2 separate regions of the Homo sapiens genome follow, and region 2 is linked to region 1. The links are contacts of gene promoters, found by promoter capture Hi-C in human tissues and cell types (Jung and others, 2019). All regions are on one chromosome and are shown on one strand. The core of a region is centred on a gene start or on the middle of the fragment in contact, and the rest is flanking DNA. Distances in the headings are between cores, read along the strand shown.

What was found. The method cuts DNA at HindIII sites, captures the fragments that hold promoters and counts their contacts. A contact is called where the count stands out against the background at its distance.
Region 2: a fragment that was not itself captured here is called in contact with the fragment with the promoter of RFPL1 in region 1 in 3 of the 25 tissues and cell types used here (mesenchymal stem cells, spleen and thymus).

The regions. Positions count from the first base shown.
Region 1 is chr22:29,436,900-29,440,842 of GRCh38, reverse strand. It overlaps RFPL1 (ret finger protein like 1), which reads right to left and starts at 2,260. Exons shown (of 2, transcript NM_021026.2): 1 at 1,679-2,260. The coding sequence starts at 2,051. RFPL1S (RFPL1 antisense RNA 1) reads left to right here. Exons shown (of 1, transcript NR_002727.2): 1 at 1-3,828. The HindIII fragment of the contact is 25,280 bases long and covers 1-3,943 here.
Region 2 is chr22:29,567,363-29,571,305 of GRCh38, reverse strand. It overlaps NIPSNAP1 (nipsnap homolog 1), which reads left to right. Exons shown (of 10, transcript NM_003634.4): 2 at 774-901; 3 at 1,099-1,144; 4 at 2,019-2,113. Among named protein-coding and RNA genes, the nearest start is that of NIPSNAP1, 12 kb to the left of the region's middle. RefSeq lists a silencer at 72-366 and an enhancer at 1,832-2,126. The HindIII fragment of the contact is 3,498 bases long and covers 364-3,861 here.

The sequences.
Region 1 (3,943 bases), core at 1,011-3,510:
AGCACTTTGGGAGGCCGAGACGGGTGGATCACGAGGTCAGGAGATCGAGACCATCCTGGCTAACACGTGAAACCCTGTCTCTACTAAAAAACATACAAAAAAATTAGCCGGACATGGTGGCGGGTGCCTGTAGTCCTAGCTACTCGGTAGACTGAGGCAGGAGAATGGCATGAACCCAGGAGGCGGAGCTTGCAATGAGCAGAGATCATGCCACTGCACCTCCAGCCTAGGCGGCAGAGCGAGACTCCATCTCAAAAAATAAAAAAAAAAAGAAAGTTGTTCGTCATAACTGACTGATCGTAGAGAATAAGGGCAGTAAATACAAAGGTCAATAATTTAATGCATTGGGTATGTGGTTGATAGGTGAAGCTGCCAATTCTCATGGAGGAGGCAGTGTGATCTGGCCTAAAGAAAATTAATTGTCCAGAGCATTCTGAAAAAAAAATCTACAGAACATATGATCCTTCAAGTCAAAAAACTGATGATCACCAATATAGATTTTATAGATTACAGTAAGACTTGAGGAGACTGATTGCTGTTTGATGGTGAATTAGGGAATGAAATGAGATGAGTGGACATGGACAAGGAAGGAGGAAGAGGGTTCCAAACATGACTTAGGCAGGGTGAATCTGTCCTCCATATTTCAGCAGAGACACAGTCAGGTATGGGTAGGTGGATGAGTAGAGATCATGGGTGTCAGGGCAGAAGCCACCACCATTTATAGGTGTAATTCTTTGCCCAGGCTGACCATAACCTCTTCATTTAAATGTCCCTATTCCCCAGAGTTATGGAGAGTGATAGTATTTTCTGTAGCCAGGACCCCTGTTGAAGTCCATGGCACACCGATGAGGAGACCAGCGTCTGCAACTCGCCCCACTCACAGAAACAAACACCATAGGTGCTCCATTCCAAACTCTTCCCAACCCTGGGGTGAGGTTGTTTGGTACAGTGGGTGCCAATACTCACTGTGCATTAGAATTACCAGGCCCATTTAAATGTCAGAGTCCTGGGAACCTTTGCTAGAGAGAAATTCAAATTAAGTTGCTCTGTGTTTTTGCTACTCAGCAAAGTCCCCAAGCCAGCGGGATCAATCCTGAGACTTCCCAGTTCAGCATCTGCATTTTAACAAGATCCCCAGGTAATCTGAGCACACTAAGTTTAGAGAATCCCTTGTCTAACCCATGACATAGACATCAGGTTTTTTTTTTTGAGACGGAGTCTCACTCTGTCACCCAGGCTGGAGTGCAGTGGTGCAATCTTGGCTCACTGCAAGCTCCGCCCCCCCCAGGTTAACGCCATTCTCCTGCCTCAACCCCCAAGTAGCTGGGACTACAGGCACCCACCACCAAGCCTGGCTAATTTTTTGTATTTTTAGTAGAGACAGGGTTTCACCGTGTTATCCAGGATGGTCCCGATCTCCTGACCTCGTGATCCACCCGCCTCGGCCTCCCAAAGTGCTGACATTACAGGCATGAGCCACCATGCCCAGCCAGCCTTTTTTTTGGAGATCACCAGGTGATTCTGTATGTTGTCAGGGCTGAGAATCTGATGATGAAGAAGCATCTCAATTTTAGGTGCCAGACAGCAGCTAATCCCCATATGGAATGAGGGGCCAGTTGCACAGATGATTTTTCCTGGTCTGGTCGTAGGAAGGGGGCAGTGTATACAGATCCCTCACCTTGGAACTTCCGCATCCTTGGGTTCATCTGCAGAATCTTCTTCAGCTTGGGCTCCAGTTCCTTGATGTGGGAAGCCAGCCTCTCTAGCTGCCAACTGGGCCTGATTTTGTTCTTCTGAGAGACCATGGAACAGCAACAGCAAAGTAGATCCTCCCCATGGGGCTCCTTCTGCAGTGAATTGATGCACTTGAAGCAGACAGCGCATCCACACTCCAGGGACATTGGTTTCTCTAGATAGTCTGAGCAGACGGGACAGCTGCTTGCTTCTTGGAAGAGTGCAGCCATGTCCACTGCCAGGGGAAAAGTGCACAAGGGAAGAAAATTTCCGTGAGGTGAAAGCCTGTTAGTTGTGACAAGTGACAACCTTTTCATGCATAAAGGTATTGTGTCCCAGCTTTGTCACTTCTAGAACAAGACCATGAGTACAAACACTCAAGCACATCCCCCCACCCCCCGTCTTCAGAGATTTGAAGTTCTATTGGGAAAGAAAGTCACGAATCATCACTGTGCTCTGAACTGAGGTGGAGGAAGGGTCCATTCTACTGGTGACCCAGCAACTGAGCCTGAGCCAGTGACACGGCAGCACCCATGTGAGGAACAGCGAGCTGGGGTCATTTCACCTCCTCCTAGGGGAACCCCAGCAAGAGATTGATTGATGAACATAAGAATTAGGGGCTGGGAGGCCGGGCGTGGTGGCTCAGGCCTATAATCCCAGCACTTTGGGAGGCTGACGTGAGTGGATCATCTGAGGTCGTCAAAAGTTCGAGACCAGCCTGATGGGTGAAACCCCATCTCTACTGAAAATACAAAAGAATTAGCCAGGCGTGGTGGCACACGCCTGTAATCCCAGATACTTGGGAGGCTGAGGCAGGAGAATTGCTTGAACCTGGGAGGCAAAGGTTGCAGTGAGCCAAGATCCAGCCATTGCACTCCGGCCTGGACAACAGAGTGAGACACCATCTCAAAAAAAAAAAAAAAAAAAAAGAGAGGGACTGGATGCAGTAGCTCACATCTGTAATCCCAGCACTTTGCGAGGCCAAGGCTGGAAGATCCCTTGAGCCAAGGAGTTTGAGATCAGCCTGGGCAACACAGGAAGACCCCCTCTCTACAAATAATAGAAAAATTAGCAGTGAGCAGAGATCACACCAGGTCACTCCAACCTGGACAACAGAGTTAAGACCCTGTCTCACCAAAAAAAAAAAAAAAAAAATCACATCCTTCTCCAGCCTTGGAAATGAATACCAAATTGACTGCCACCACTCCTAGACTGGAGATCTGGGGATCCAGGGTGACTGGTTTTCAACTCTGAGGCAGCACTCAGACAGCCTTTGTTGAATTCATTAATTACGAATTTCTCTCATTCATCCCCCAAGGCATAACCCCCATTTCTAGGCATCTAAGGAGGAAAAACACACACACAGGCATGGGCTCACCTCTTCTGCTGGAAGCTCCTCTGTCCTCCAGCTGCTTCCACTGGGCGCTCAGGTCTTGTGCGGAAGGGGCACATGAGGGCGTTTTATTGGTGAGATTCCCACCTCCCACTGGGTCATGCCCTTCCACACCCTCTAACCTAATGAGGCTTTGATTTAATTATAACAGGGAATTAGGTTTTTACTGGTGATATATCTCCAGTTAATTGTAACTTTAGTAAATCCTTCATCCTGACAGTGTATTTTTCTTTCATATGAAGATAAGATTAAATTGCCTTTATATTAAATTAGGCTTAATGTACTAACTTCAAAAGCTTATTTTAGAGATGTTTCCATCAGTTGTCAGTAAAGATAATTCCTGTAATATGTTGTAGGCTTCAAGCTTTGCTTGGAAACCTGAAGTATTAAGTATGATTGGATTTGCAATTTTACAAAATGGTTTAAATTCATATACATCAGACTCAAAGGTAATAGGGGCATGCATTCCATTGAGGAAATTCTAGGGAATTTTTATTTATTTTCATTGGTTTATTTCTGGTTTTGAAAAAATTTCATAATTCATAGGAAAAAATTGGATAATTACTATTTTGACAAATGACCATTAAGCTTCTTGGACCTTGAGTACTTCACACAGTGTTAAGATAAAAGTCACAATTTAAAAAAAAAAGATGATTTTCTTGTGAAACTTGTGTTCTCAAATAAAAATTGTTACCCGTGAAGTGAGTTGTGCTTTCTTCCATTTGAATCAACCCCGAATCTTTTCATTTTCATGCCTTTCTGTGTAGTGGGATCTTTACTGCTTTGTTTTCAAATTTCAAATAATTTGAATATAAT
Region 2 (3,943 bases), core at 863-3,362, 130 kb before region 1:
GGGGACTGACCAGCTCATCTCCTCCTCTGTAGAGAGTCTGCCCAGGTTGCCAGAAGCAGAGTTAAGGCTAGTTCACCTGGGCTCTTCCAGAGACCCCTCCTATAATTGTGTCCCAAGGCCCATTTCTCCTAGTGGACTATGAGCTCCTCAAGGACAAAGCTTATTTGTATTTGGCTTTCCATGTGTGGGGTCAGGGTGGGGACATGGGCCAAGTGCACTGTGAGAGTGCTGGGGAGGACGGTGAGAGCAGTCTTCTCGTTAGAGGGGACAGAACTTGTACAGAAAGCACAGAGTAGCAGATCCTGGTGTGTTCAGGGAAGAGCACACCTGGAGAGTGAGGTGTACAGGTGAGGGGGCAGGAGGGGAGGCTGACAAGTTAGGTTGGGTTGTCAAGGGCTTTGGGCATGATGCAAGGTGGATTTGGGGTTGATCCTCTTGGCGAGAGGCTGGAGTTATATGACCCAAGTAGAGGACCTCTTGGAAGGGGGATGAAGTGGAGGCAGGGAGGCTAGAGAGAGAAGTGGGAGGTGGGGCTGCCTCTCCTGGCGTCCTGAGGCTCTGCAAAGCTTCAAGAAGCCAACTGGGCAGCTGGAATATCTGTAGAAAGGAGCTGGCTCCAATAGCATTTCACAGTCTGGAGCTGCCACAGGACTCCGTGGCCCTGTTCCCAGAAATGTGGGTCACTGGTCTAGGGGAGCAGGACATCCAAGTGGATGGAATTGCTGGGGCTCCCCCAACCTCCGCGCGTCCCCCTCAACTCCTCTGTCCTGCAGTTTCTATTCCAAGGACAATGAAGGCAGCTGGTTCCGCTCCCTCTTTGTTCACAAAGTGGATCCCCGGAAGGATGCCCACTCCACCCTGCTGTCCAAGAAGGAAACCAGCAACCTCTATAAGATCCAGTGTGAGTGGCTGCTGAGCTGACCAATTTCTGCCCTTTCAGGGGCTCTGGGGGCCTGTGAGGCTCCAGGAAGGAGATGGGAGGGTCTGGAATGTCCTCAGCTGTCCTGGGACCCCTGGCCTTGATGGGCTCCCCTCACCCCAAGTTCTTCCCTGTGTACACACCCTACCTCACTTCTTGTTCTCTGTCCTCTGTTGCAGTTCACAATGTAAAGCCTGAATACCTGGATGCCTACAACAGCCTCACGTGAGCACCCTGCATCCATACATCCCATCCCCTGCTTGGGTGGGGAACACACTTTCAGCAAATTTGCGGAACATCCTCCACCCTGTTCTTTTCTGTAGAAATCCAGGAGATGTAGATTTCTTTTATTTCTGCCTTTTTCTTTCTTTCTTTCTTTCTCTCTTTCTTTTTTTTTGAGATGGAGTTTTGCTCTCGTTGCCCAGGCTGGAGTGCAATGGCGCGATCTCGGCTCACTGCAACCTCTGCCTCCCAGGTACAAGCGATTCTCCTGTTCCAGCCTCCCAAGTAGCTCGGATTACAGGCATGCGCCGCTAAGCATGGCTAATTTTTTTGTATTTAGTAGAGACAGGGTTTCACCATGTTAGTCCGGCTGGTCGCAAACTCCTGACCTCAGGTGATCCACCTGCCTCGGCCTCCGAGTGCTGGGATTACAGGCATGTGCCACTGCGTTTGGCCCCATTTTCTTTCTTTCTTTTTTTTTTTTTTAAGAGATGGTCTCCAGGAGGCGGAGGTTCCAGTGAGCCGAGATTGCGCCATTGCACTCCAGCCTGGGCAACAAGAGCAAAACTCTGTCTCACACACAAAAAAGAGAGATGGGATCTCACTTTGCTTCCCAGGCTGGTCTCAAACTACTGGGCTCAAGCAATCCTCCTGCCTCAGCCTCCCAGTGTTGGGATTACAGGTGTGAGCCACTGTGCCCAGCCAGGATGTAAATTTCAGTGTCGGAAGTCCTGAGGGCCTCTTGCCTAGCTTCTGCATTTTAGAGATGGAGAGTCTGAGGCCCAGCCCCAGGGTCTGTTTGAACTGAGTTTGAACCCTTATCTCAGAGGCCCTGGTGGCTATGTGAACCCTGCCCCTCTCTGCACCTCCCCCACAGGGAGGCTGTGCTGCCCAAGCTTCACCTGGATGAGGACTACCCATGCTCACTCGTGGGCAACTGGAACACGTGGTATGGGGAGCAGGACCAGGCAGGTAAGGCGCTCACCTCCCTAGTGCCATTGCCACTGCCCAGCCCTGGCCTCCAGCACCTTTCACACCTGGCTGTTCTCCACTCCCTCTCCACAACAGCACCTGGTGGGGCTCTTACTAAAACCTCATCACCTCACTCCCCTGCTCAAATACCTGTCCTGGCTCCCCTGTGCCCTCAAGGTGACCCGTGAAGCCTGTGACTCCTTCCCGGCCCTGCCCCCAGCCTCATGGCACCAAATCCTCCATGCCTCGCTGTGCTGTCCCACCCAGGACTCAGTTCCTCAGATTGACAGTTTCACTCTTTAGTTCCAGACTACTGCTCATTCTCTTTCTTCTGCCTTAAGCATTATTTCTTGTTTGCCTGCTTTACCTGGATCACTGTCTTTTATTCTTTTTTTTTCCGAGACTGAGTTTCACTCTTGTTGCCCCAGGCTGGAGTGCAGTAGTGCAATCTCGGCTCACTGCAACCTCCGCCTCCCCAGTTTAAGCAATTCTCTTGTCTCAGCCTCCTGAGTAGCTGGGATTACAGGCATGTGCCACCACGCCCAGCTAATTTTGTATTTTTAGTAGAGACGGGATTTCACCATGTTGGTCAGGCTGGTCTTGAACTCCTGATCTCAGGTGATCCACCTGCCTCAGCCTCCCAAAGTGCTGGGATTACAGGTGTGAGCCACCGCACCCGGCCTTTTTTTTTTTTTTCTTTTTTCTTTTTTGAGACAGGGTCTCGCTCTGTCACCCAGGCTGGCAGATAGTGGCACAGTCTTGGCTGACTGCAACCTCCACCTCCTGAGTTGAAGATATTCTCCTGCCTCAGCTTCCCGAGTAGCTGGGATTACTGGCCTGTGCCACCAGGCCTGGCTAATTTTGTATCTTTAGTAGAGATGGGGTTTCACATGTTGGTCAGGCTGGTCTCGAACTTCTGACCTCAGGTGATCCACCTGCCTCGGCCTCCCAAAGTGCTGGGATTACAGGAGTGAGCCACCACTCCCGGCCTTTTTTTTTTTTTTTTTTTTTTTTGAGACAGGGTCTTGCTCTGTCACACAGGCTGGAGTGCAGTGGCATAATCTTGGCTCACTCGAGCCTCAATTTCCCAGGCTCAAGCAGTACTCCCACCTCAGCTTCCTGAGTAGCTGGGACTATAGGTGCGCTCCACCATGCTCGGCTAATTTTTGTGTTTTTTGGTAGAGACGGGGTTTCTCCATGTTGCCCAGGCTGGTCTTGAATTCCTGAACTCAAATGATCCTACCTCCTCGGCCTCCCAAAGTGCTAGGATTGTAGACATGAGCCACCGTGCCTGGCCTTTCAGTTTTATTCATTTTTAAATTTTCATTTATTTATTTATTTTTGAAACCAGGTCTTGTTACCCAGTGGGGAGTGCAGTGGTGTGATCACAGCTCACACAGCCTTAACCTCCTGAGCTTAAGCAATCCTCCTACCTCAGCCTCCTGAGTAGCTGGGACCACAGGTGCATGCCACAATGCCCAACTAATTTATTTTAAATTTTTTGTAGAGACGGGATCTCCCTATGTTACCCAGGGTGGTCTCAAACTCCCGGGCTCAAGCGATCCTTCCACTTTGGCCTCCCAAAGTGCTGGGAGTACAGGCATGAGCCACAGTGCCTGGACTATTCACTTTTCTATTTTGGCATAGATGTCACCTCCTCCTGGAAGGCTGCCGAGATTTCCTCCACGCGGGCTGGGTCAGGCACCTTCCTTAGCTCTCCAGGCCTCAGTAATTACCTCCTCACGCCCTGATCATGTACCCCTATAGCTGCCTGTTTAGTTGTCTGTCTCCATATATGGGTGAATCCCCAATATGCAGCACATATTTGTG